Regions from separate parts of the Homo sapiens genome. Here region 1 is linked to region 2. Evidence: promoter capture Hi-C in human tissues and cell types (Jung and others, 2019). All regions are on one chromosome and are shown on one strand. Each heading gives the region's core, a stretch centred on a gene start or on the middle of the fragment in contact. The rest is flanking DNA. Distances are from core to core; before and after follow the strand shown.

Region 1 (5,570 bases), core at 794-3,293, 150 kb before region 2:
AAATACTGTCACCATGGTATTTCTCAGCATTTGCTACATAGGAGGTTTTTCATACTTCAGGAAACATATTTACCATTTTAAAACCAAAGACATCAGGGTCCCATCAACATCTGTGATTTAGCTGTTACTAAACATTGTAAATCTATCAGTGTCTTGTTCCTTGGAAGTAGAACACCTACCACTGGACTCCCTTTACTCTAATTAACCAAAGGCACCCCACATGAGTGGTTAATAACTGGTTGGGCTTTGTCCCCTTCAGAGGGGACACACATGGTATAGTTGCCAAGTCCTGGACTCACTTTCTGACAAAAGCTTTTCCAAGATGCTCCTGGCTGGAAGCCGTGTGTGTCAGTTTGCTATGGCAGATAATACTCTGTCCTCTGGACACCCGAAATTCGTGTGTTGAAGTCCCAACCACCAGCGTCTCAGAATGTGACTGTATTTGGAGGCAGGGTCTTTAAAGAGATAACAGGCCAGGCGTGGTGGCTCCCACCTGTAATTGCAACACTTTGGGAGGCCAAGGCGGGCAGATCACCTGAGGTCAGGAGTTCGAAACCAGCCTGGCCAACATGGAGAAACCCTGCCTGTACTAAAACTACAAAAATTATCTGGGTGTGGTGGCGCATGCCTGTAGTCCCAGCTACTTAGGAGGCTGAGGCAGGAGAATTGCTTAAACCCGGGAGGGAGAGGTTGCAGTGAGCCACTACACTCCAGCCTGGGTGACACAGTGAGACTCTGTCTCAAAATAAATACATAAATTAATTAATTAATTAAAATAAAAAATAAAGAGGTAACTAAGGTTAACTGAGGTCCTTAAGGTGGAACCTAATCCAATATGACTGGTGTTCCTTATCAGAAGAGGAGATGAGGACACAGGGCAAGGACGCCCATCTGCAAAGCTAAGGAGAGAGGACTCAGGAAAGAACAACACCGCAGATGCCTTGATCTCAGACTTCCGGGCTCCAGAATTGTGGGAAAACAAATTTCTGTTGTTTAAGCTGTCCAGTCTGTGATACAGAAAGCCCTCACTTAACATTGTCAGTAAGTTCTTGGAAACTAACTTTAAGTGAAATGATGTATAACAAAATCAATTTTCTAATCAATAGGCTAATTGATATAAACAAGAGTTAAGTTCCTACAGCACGCTTCTCCCTTTGCAGGGCGCACTCACACACATGCCCACCCTCACTCACCTTGGGACCACGTAGACACATCAGTTCACCTAATGGGCACAATCATGGGATCAAGGAGGAAACGAGAGCACCCAGAAAAAACCCACACAGACATGGGGAGAACATGCAGACAGACTCCAACACAGGTAGTGGCCCCAGGTGAGGATTATTCTTTTCTCATCGACCTTATAATAAAGACCTGTTGAGGCCAGGGGAGGTGGCTCATGGATATAATCCTAGCACTTTGGGAGGCTGAGGCAGTAGGATCGCTTCAGCACAGGAGTTTGAGACCAGACTGGGCAACACAGGAAGACTCCAGTCTCTACAAAAAATATTTTTTAAAAATTAGCCAGAAATAGTGGCAGGGGCCTGTTGTCCCAGCTGCTTGGGAGGCTGAGACGGAGGAAGATCACTTGAGCCATGATTGTGCCACTGCACTTCAGTCTGGGCAACAGAGCAAGACCCTGTCTCAAAATAAATAAAAACAAAATGACCTTATTCTAGGACCTGCTGTACTTTGTTACAATAGCCCAAGCAAACTGAGACACCATGTAAATGCCAGTTTTCCTTTACAATAAAGACAATAGTGCACGTACCCCAGATGTGACAACTGTAGGATTCCATTTGAAAGAGCAGGCAGGCTGGGTATGGTGGCTCATGCCTGTAATCCCAGCACTTTGGGAGGCCGAGGTGGGCAGATCATGAGGTCAGGAGTTCAAGACCAGCCTGGCCAACATGGTGAAACCCCATCTCTATTAAAAATACAAAAATTAGCTGGGCGTGGTGGCGGGCACCTGTAGTCTCAGCTACTCAGTAGGCTGAGGCAGGAGAATAGCTGGAATCTGGGAGGCAGAGGTTGCAGTGAGCCGAGATGGTGCCACTGCACTCCAGCCTGGGTGACAGAGCAACTCTGCTCAAAGAAAAAAACGAAAGAAAGAAAGAGCAGGCAATTTTCACCTTACAGTAACCTATGATTGAGGATCTCAGTTGCCCCTCTCAATAGGTTTTCCTGTTTTATCCTTCAGTTCTTCTCTGCCCCTGGCTGGAGACCAGACATAAGCACAAATCTGAAGGTTGAGCCCTGGGGTGGAGGACAGGAACCATTTTCTCACTACCACCACCCTCTGTGAGCTACCACTTGCTTCTGCCAAGAATCATCCTTACAATGAGCTCCTTCCTTACTCATTATTTTTCTTCTTCCTTGCAACACGCAGAATTTATCTCTCCTCATCTTGATGTTGATGAAAGGCAATATTCTTTGCTAATTTAAAGTGTGATGAAACATACAGAAGAAAACAAGATTTCTGATAAACACTTTTTGCTAATTAAGTATTTGGAAATCTGCTTGTACCAAAATAATATGACATTCCTCCCTGTGCCCTCCCTGTGCCTTTTATTTCCTCTAATAGAATTGTTTTCCTCCACACAGAGGTTCTCTTTTTTTTTTTTTTTTTCAGATGGAGTCTCACTCTGTTGCCAGGCTGGAGTGCAGTGGTGCTATCTCGGCTCACTGCAACCTCCGCCTCCTGGGTTCAAGCGATTCTCTTGCCTCAGCCTCCCGAGTAGCTGGGATTACAGGCACCCGCCACCGTGCCCAGCTAATTTTTTATTTTTAGTAGAGACAGTGTTTCACCATGTTGGCCGGGATGGTCCCGATCTCTTGATCTCGTGATCTGCCTGCCTCGGCCTCCCAAAGTGCTGGGATTCCAGGCAAGAGCCACTGCTTCCGGCCAACAGAGGTGCATTCTAGATCTTTAATTTCTCCACCTCACTTGGAAGATTGCTAGAAATCACAAATAAAGTTTGTAATGTAGTTATATAGCTTTCACTGAACATTTTAAATACTTGAACAAAAAATTCATGACGATTACACATAACCAAGCCCATCCCAAACTTTTTGAAGACTTCATATGTCAATCCCCCGATAGTTAATAAATACTGTATTTTTTCATGACTCCCACTCTTAATCATCATACTGACTCATACCACTCAAAACTGCAGTTTAATTATATTAGTTTTCTCTAATATAAAATTAGTTACATATTTAATTAACTTCCTTTCTCCCAAAATAGCAACCATCCTCTTTGATTAACCTGGCTGAGTCATGCAAAACCTTATGCTTATCTTGCTGTCAATTACAAGCATATTTTAGTTTTAAGCAGAAATAGCTTACATTGTACCATGCAAAAATTACGGTGTTAGGGCCGAGCGCTGTGGTTCATGCCTGTAATCCCAGCACTTTGGGAGGCCGAGGTGGGTGGATCACCTGAGGTAAGGAGTTCAAGACCAGCCTGGTCAACATGGTGAAACCCTGACTCTACTAAAATACAAAAATTAGCCGGGCATGATGGCGGGTGCCTGTATTCCCAGCTACTTGAGAGGCTGAGACGGGAGAATCTCTTGAACCTGGGAGATGTTGGTTGCGGCGAGCTGAGATCACGCCACCGCACTCCAGCCTGGGCAGCTGAGTGAGACTCCATCTCAAAAAAAAAAAAGAAAAAGAAAATTACGGAGTTAGGAGGAAGGATGGCATATGGTTAGGAAACTAATTTCACAAGTAAATGGATCCTCTATTGACTTTGACAGACAAAATGTAAGAACAAGAATGCAAAAGTAAGACCTTTTTTTTTTTTTTGAGATGGAGTTTCGCTCTTGTTGCCCAGGCTGGAGTGCAATGGCAAGATCTCGGCTCACTGCAACCTCCTCCTCCTGGGTTCAAGTGATTCTCCTGCCTCAGCCTCCTGAGTAGCTGGGATTACAAGGCATGTGCCACCACACCGGCTAATTTTGTATTTTTAGTAGAGACTGGTCTCAAACTCCCACCGTCAGGTGATCCACCCGCTTTGGCCTCCCAAAGTGCTGGAATTACAGGCATGAGCCACTGTGCTTGGCAGTAAGACTCTTATATTCCTAGACTTTTTTTGTATGTATGAATCACTTTGGTACCAAAAGGTCCTTTATTTGATAAAGACAGTTCATGACTGCTTTATTCATTACCAGTTTATTTCATTTAAAATTTTATTACTTTTGGAATCTGGATGTCACAGACAAGGTTGGGTGATAACAATTTAAGGTTAGAGTCCTCCTGCAAGGACAAGGATGTCAATAAGAGGTGAGGAGGGTTCCAGGCACATTGCTGCCCACATAAAAGAGCAAGCTAGGACCCAGGCGCGGTGGCTCACACCTGTAATCCCAGCACTTTGGGAGGCCGAGGCAGGTGGACCATGAGGTCAGGAGATCGAGACCATCCTGGCTAACACAGTGAAACCCCATCTCTACAACAAAATACAAAAAAAAAAAACAAATGAGCCAGGCGTGGTGGTGGGCACCTGTAGTCCCAGCTACTCGAGAGGCTGAGGCAGGAGAATCTGTTGAACCTGGGAGGCAGAGGTTGCACTGAGCCGAGACTGTGCCACTGCACTCCGGCCTGGGCAATAGAGCGAGACTCCGTCTCAAAAAAATAAATAAATAAAAATAAGAATACCAGCTTTTTAAAGGAAAAATCATTTAGGACCAAGGTCTAAAAGCAATTCTTTGGGAGTGTGTGTCCTAACAGAGCAGACCCTGAGTACTGAAACTAACAGATTATTCCGTGTGATGGCTGCATGGTGCCTCTCAAATGTCATATGTTGAAATGCTAACCCCAAGAACCTCAGAAGGTGACTATATTTGGAGGAGGGGCCTTTACAGAGGTAATCAATTAAAAATGATGTCATATGGATGTGTGGGCCCTAATCCAATCTGACTGGGTCCCATAAGAAAAGGCTTGGGTGCAGCGGCTCACACCTGTAATCCCAGCACTTTGAGAGGCCGAGGCAGGAGGATCGCCCGAGGTCGAGAGTTCGAGACCAGCCTGACCAACATGGAGAAACCCTGTCTCTACTAAAAATACAAAATTGGCCAGGCGTGGTTGCGCATGCCTGTAATCCCAGCTACTCAGGAGGCTGAGGCAGAAGAATCGCTTGAATCCAGGAGGCGGAGGTTGCAGTGAACCGAGATTGCGCCATTGCATTCCAGCCTGTGAAACAAGAGCGAAACTCTGTCTCAAAAAAAAAAAAAAAAAAAAGAGATGAGGACATAGACACACACAGTGGGGACACAGGGAGAATACAGCCTCAGCCTTCTGCAAGCCAAGGAGAGAGGACTCAGGAGGAATCAACTCTGCCCACACCTTGATTTTGGACTTCCAACCTCTAGAACGGGAGAGAATAAATATCTGTTCTTTAAGCCCCCCACTGTGGCACTTTGTTATGGAAGCCCTAGCAAATTAACACATGCATGCAACAATATTCCTCAACAAATGCAAAAGTAGCTTTAAATGGGAATTTGTTAATCCCATCCTCAGAGTACTGTAAGGTCAAAATGTCTACATTTAAATTGCTGAATGCAATTTTCAAG
Region 2 (6,318 bases), core at 1,995-4,494:
AGCCCCTAATCTGGGGTGGAGAAGAGCACCCCAGGCTTGGGACAGGGGGTGAGAGGTGGGCCTGGGTCTGGATCTCAGCCAAAGGTGGGGGCTGGGACTGGGGCCAGGCTGGAGTGAAATGTTGGGGCTGGGCCATGTGGTGGGGCTGGGGCGGTGCCTGGGAAAGCTGTGAGGATGCCTCAACCTCAGGTTCACCTGGAAGAGAAGTGGAGGCTTTATCCAGTGGTACAGAGTGTGCATTCTGTGAGGAAGGGTTCCTAGAAACCCAGACTGTGGTCGCCAGGGACTCGCTATTGAGAGAGGGGAGGTCCCAGAAAAGCTGGCTGCGTTTCTGCTGTAAGTGGTTCCCCACGGTTGTGGCATCAGAGACTTGCTGAGGACGGGGCAGCTGCTGTGGCTGGGTTGACACGTTCCAGAAGGGATTTAGGGTCGTGATGTCCCACTCCTTCCCCAGTGATGTCATGTGCGGGTGGTCGGCCCGTTTTCTTTCTTTCTCCTGCCACATCTTCATCAGTGCTCTCTTGGCGATGAGGGTCTCCAGCAGCTTCTGCACGTCAGGGTGGATGAATGTGCAGCCACCTACCTCCATGTGCTTGGGTGTGGGGTCTCCCCAGAAGGAAGCCTCTGAGGTGTGGTCGGGAAGATGCCGTGGCTGGGATTTGCCATGTGAGTAGGTGGAGAGGCCCCAGGTGGTGGCAGCCTCCCTCCAGCAATAGAGGTCCCAGATGGGATCGCTGGAGCACCCCAGGCCAGAGATCACCCTGGTTGGAGGAGGCAGCACCTGGTTGTGTAGAGGGGAGCTCTGGGGGACGGGGCATGTTGTGGAGCCACACTGAAGTCCAGCCAGGCTGGAGTCGGGTGGAGGTGGAGAGGAGGCCAGGGGACCATGCGGCTGTGGTGAAGGAGGAAAAACCACATGTGGCTGGGTTGCAGGGCATTTTAGGGGAAGCAAGGGCTCTGGTGGCCCGGAGGCACTCAGGGTTGAGTGTGGTCCAAAAGGCTCTGAGAAGGTCATCGGGCCTGGTGACAGGGTGGAGGCCAGAGGAGCTGGGGGAGCTGGTGGGGACAAGCTGGCAGGAGACGGATCTTGCATGCATTTCCCATGCGGCTGGTGGGCCTTAGCAGGCACTGGTTTACACACGTCCCCCAGGGGGTCTCCACCTAAGGGCAGGTGGGAGCTGCCTTCGCCAGCGAGCTTCCTCAGGTGGCTGCAGGAGACAAGAGGCACAAGCTGCAGCCAGGGGTAGATGGGGCCGGGAAGCTGGGACGGGTGGGCACCTGGGGCCCCCGGTTCCTCCACCTCCCCAACTGCTGACTTCATAAAGCTCTGCCTAAGCCTGCCCCAGGGCTTCAGTCCCCTCCTGTCCCCTTCCCGGGACCTCCCCCTCCCAGATCACCACCAGGCCGTAGGGTTGCATCAGAGGCCCTGGTAGGAAGGAGGACAGGGACAGAAGGGGGAAGCTCCTCACCTTTCCAGAAGGTAGTTCAGGTCCCGAGTCTCCTCCAGCTCCCTCAGGAGGATTCTGCAAGCTGGAAATCAGGAGACAGGGTTATGGTGGAGAGGGCGGTGCCTGGGAACCTCATGGAGGCTGAGTGGATGTCTTTTTAGGGGACACCATGGGGGACTAGACCCTGAAGCCCTCGCATCTGTGTCCGAGGCCACATGGCCCCAATGGTGACAGGAAGGTTTCCACTGTGCAGCACTTTGTCATTTGCAAAAAGTGCTTCCACGTCCACCCCCTCATCGGTGTCACAACCATCTTGTTGGGAGAGCAAATGGGTGGTCTCAAAGAGGAGTCAGCCATTGCTGAGGTGAACAGCTGTCCACATGGACCTGGAGCCTCCCTGACCTCCCCCCATATCCAGGCAGGCCTTGGTCCCTTCCCCACACCGCCCCCTTATGGGCAATACCGGTCCCAGGCCCGTGGCTTCATTCCCGCAGGGAATCTGAGGAGGCCGCAGGTTCTGATTTCTCTCCCAGGAGCTTCCCTCTCAGGCCTCTGCAAATGACTTCCTCAGGGACAGGCAAAGCTCAGTTACCTCTGGGGAGTCCCGGGGGGCAGCAGAGCCTCACCTTTCAGAGCTGAGATCTTCCTGCTCCTGGACCTCCCGCTTCTCTCCCTTTGAGGCTGAGAGGCAAGAAAGGATGAGGGGCTGGGACCAGTTCTCAGTCTCCTCTCCCCAGACCAGCTGCACACACGCAGTGCTCATGAGGGACACGGCTCTCAGCCTCTAGCTCAGGGAGCTCTGTGTGTGCTTTTTACTCATGTTTACCGTGAATGAAATGTTTTCTGTTTTCCTTCTTAGGGAAATGCAAGGAAGGGTTGTCTGTGTGACTCCAACCTGGCTGTCCCCAGTCCCTGCTCCTCCGCTCAAGGAACACCTAGGCTCAGGCCCACAGGCGCCTCTGAGCTGCCAGTAGGATTCTGCTTTGGATGAGAATGGAGAGGAGGCCAGGGTACCATGGGGCTGTGGTGAAGGAGGAAAAAGCACATGTGGCCGGGGTGCAGCCACAGGCGAATCCAGGCTCTACTGGGAGGCTCTCAGGAGCTCAGCACAGCTCCCAGATCACACCCAGATCATACAGAGGAGGCTGGGCCCCCAGGCACCTGCCCCAGGAAGGGGGTGATGAGCCAGGGCTGGGGCCTCTCCTCCCACAGAGACCTCACCCCTCTCCTGACCCGGTCCTTGCCACTGAGTCCAGTGTTGGTTTTTGCCCTGACGCCTCCTGTGCACCCCACAGATGAGCTCGGGATGGAATCCTCTGCCCACTCTCACCCCTGCCTGCCTTGCCCTTCCCTAGAGGGATGACGAGATTTCCCATCACAGAAGGGTCTCACATTGCTTAGGAAAAGTGGAAATGAGGGGAGGAAAAGAAGAGAGAATCTTTCTCTGTGGGGCTGGGCTGAGGACTCCTTACCTCCCTGCTGCTCCTCTTCCTCCCGGGCGGGGGTGAGGGTGGGTCACTGTGGACGTAGAGGAGCAATAGGAAGAGGAGCACTAGGCCACACACACTGGTGAGGATGAAATCCATCATCCAGGGAGTGGAGCTAGGGCTCAGCCATGTGGCACTAGGGCTCTTCAGAGGAAAGAGCATTTTCTCCATCTGAAGTGCAATGTCGTCTCCTGTGCACTCCACAGATGGTCTGGGAGCTGGGGGTGGAATCCTCTGCCCACTCTCAACCCTGCCTGCCCTGCCCTTCCCTAGAGGGATGACGAGATTTCCCATCGCCTTCAAGCAACTGAGCTCTGGGCATCCCCTTTGGGACTAGGGACTGGGGCCCAGGCTTGTATCACACAGCTGGGGCCTCCTCCTCACAAAGGGCTCCTGGGGGTGGGGGAGGGGCAGTGGGAGGAGGAGGCTGAAGCACAGCCCCGCCCTCAGCTCCCAGCCCCCAGTCCCTCCACCCTCCTGGGTCCCCCAAATCGCTCCTTCCCACTCCAGCTGCTCACCCTGTCAGAGACAGTCCTCAGTCCATTTTCTATTCTCTTCCCCTGGAACACAGGTGTCACCTGGCTCTCCTTGTACCTTGGAGATCTAGGCCTGAGCCCACCCATTTCATAGCCTTTGAAACTGTGAAATTCTCCTAGGAATTTAGGTGGTTTCTTAAGGATTATTTCAGAATCTCCTCTGTTTTTGTAATTTTCCCACACCTTACATTTTCTACTTTCATCAACCCAGAATAGAACTCTTAAATTTACAAAACTAAAAAGTATAAAAATTACAAATAATTAAACCTCCAAATGACATTTTTATATTAGGAACATAATTTTGAGTTACCGAATTATGGAGCTTGCTGTAAAAAAACCTCAAACACTTTGACAAATTATTTTCAAAACAATAATTAAGCCTTTACTTATTTTCTTTAGATCTTTCATATGTTGTCCTGATCCATTTTTTCTTTCTCTGCCCCAAATACAGTCCTCACTTTCCTAAGTTTTGGAACATGTGTGCTCCACCATGAGCCAGGAGTGGTTTGGGGTGATCTGAGGTCCAGCTCCTTTGGGTGGAGAGCGGGACTGGGCATTCCGTGCCAGGCTCAAGTCCAGTGTTCAGCAGACTCTTCTGAGATCACTCGTGTCCTCCGTACATATTCTTTTTTTTTTTTTTTTTGAAACGGAGTCTCACTCTGTTGCCCAGGCTGGAGTGCAGTGGCATGATCTCGGCTCACTGCAACCTCTGCCTCCTGGGTTCAAGCGATTCTCCTGCCTCAGCCTCCCAAGTAGCTGGGACTACAGAAGTGTGCCACCATGCCCAGCTAATTTTTGTATCTTTAGTAGAGACCAGGTTTCACCATAGTGGCCAGGCTGGTCCTGAACTCCTGAGCTTGTGATCCGCCCGCCTCGGCCTCCCATTTGTATTCTCTGCTCCACAGTGTGTCCTGTTTTTCACCTCCTGCCTGCTCCAGACCACTGGGGCCTCATGTCTGGCCTGTACCTGATAGGGAGCATACTTTGAGCCCTGGAGGAAATGTTCTCATTATACTATTAGACATCTTTTGGGCAGCAGAAACTCAGGATTAGAGATTGCACTTTTTAATCACTATGTGATACATTTATTTAATACTTGAAAAGTGGCCTTGAAAATCATGTATATCTTTGTCATGCGTTCTATATAGCCTCAATGGGAGTGAGACCATCTGAGTCTATTTGGGTCTGTTCTCATGAACATGCATCTTCAAGAGCATATCTGCTTCATCTACTGCTGCTTTTATCTGTCTACAGTCTCTTCCTCCTTTATGAGATTGTCACTGGGGAGGCATGACAGTCCCTAATGTGGTCAACTGGGTTAACTGGCAAGAGTGGAGACCCCAGTGACGCCTGCTAGGATCACTGGGAAGTATGGGGGTCCTAAGTTCTACTTCATTTGCAGGGAACTGAAGCCTGAGAAGTGGGTCTCATCTTGACCTATGCAATTGGGCTTGGGCATGCAAGGAATCGCCTCCCAACAAGCCACTGCCAGGTCAGTAGGTGCGCTCTGTGTGAGAAACAGGAACTGGAGAGCAGAGACAACTGGTCGCATCAGCTCCACATTTAGGGAAAAGATTTGTTTTAGGTTCCATTCCTCCTCAAACCTGATGTTCGCCTTTCTGGATAAATGAGAGGACCATGTGGGTGTGGGGGTTCCCAGTCTCTGGTGGGCTGTGTGCATGTCTCCATCCATGCACCTCTGTTCCCTCCACAGACTTCACTGCAGGGTTATGCTGTTCATCCAACCATCCACCCACCTGCCTGCTGCAACGAGGGCGAGGCTTCCCAGTGCCAGCCCCTTGCTCCTGCTGCTGCAGGGGAAATGAGCCTCAAGGCCCTTCCTTGACAAACCCCCCCCCCGCCCCGCCAACCACACACACTTCCAGACACTGTGGTGCCCACAACAGAACCCTGGGGGCTTTTGAGGGACACCACACCTACCTCGGAAGAACTGGGCCTCTCATCTCACCTGGGCGAACCTGGGTGCCTTTTGCCTTCCTGCCTTTGTCAGTCCGTATTTTACTACAGCCAATTGCTGTTCCTCATGGTGACTGTAGAACCCTCCTTCCCGCATACCACAAGCCCCTGGTCCTCAGGCATCTCCAGGGTCCTGGGAGTCTTCCTGGGCTCTGGTGTGGACTGGAGTCACAGCTTTGGTCTCACTCCACGTTTCCTGCAGGGAAGCAGAGGAAAGGGGAAGAATTCCTTAGAAAATGAGAGTGAATTTCTCTTAGGAAGAACAGCTTTTCCCCCCATAGTCTCTGATCATCCTTAAGTATTTAAAACAAACAAATACACCCACACAGGCATTTCCCATCGTGAAGCTTAACTTCCTGCAAATATCTCTCATGTTGCATACACGTGAAATTCGTGCACCTCAGCTGCACAGCCTTATCATAGTCAATGTCTGAATGTCTCAGTAGAGACCTTGAGGTACATTTCAGTGTGTTTTCATTGTCAGCCTTTGTGGACCCCTGTGCGCTCCTGCTTCCCTAATTTCCGCATGAGGAAAACGGATGGGGGAATACGGGCTGGCAGGGGAGTGCTGCGAGTGTGCATCTGGTGGGCAAGAAAAAATGATCATCCTGCTGACAGTCTTCCTTTGGACTTCATAGTTAATCTAGAAATCTACTTGAAGAACAGTGGAAACAGTACAGATTATTGATTCTATGAACCCTTTGGTACACATAAATGCTTAGGCATCCAAATTTTATAGTTATTATGCAATTATACATACGGATTATAGGAAGACAATTTTTTATATGATAAAAAAGATAATCTTAGTTATACCAACAGAGTTCTTGGATAAATTGTTCTTGTTGACTGGGCGCAGTGGCTCACGCCTGT

Evidence for each region. Contacts are between HindIII fragments. The study calls those that stand out against the background at their distance.
Region 1: a fragment that was not itself captured here is called in contact with the fragment with the promoter of SPATA31E1 in region 2 in 1 of the 25 tissues and cell types used here (H1 embryonic stem cells).

Annotation. Positions count from the first base shown.
Region 1 is chr9:88,026,132-88,031,701 of GRCh38, reverse strand. No RefSeq gene overlaps it. Among named protein-coding and RNA genes, the nearest start is that of LINC03026, 49 kb to the left of the region's middle. RefSeq lists an enhancer at 5,138-5,570. The HindIII fragment of the contact is 6,094 bases long and covers 1-5,090 here.
Region 2 is chr9:87,879,803-87,886,120 of GRCh38, reverse strand. SPATA31E1 (SPATA31 subfamily E member 1) reads right to left here and starts at 3,244. Exons shown (of 4, transcript NM_178828.5): 1 at 2,921-3,244; 2 at 2,075-2,129; 3 at 1,470-1,530; 4 at 1-1,208. The coding sequence starts at 3,229. The region is part of intron 3 of LOC497256 (a long non-coding RNA gene); the gene reads left to right. The HindIII fragment of the contact is 13,080 bases long and covers 1-6,318 here.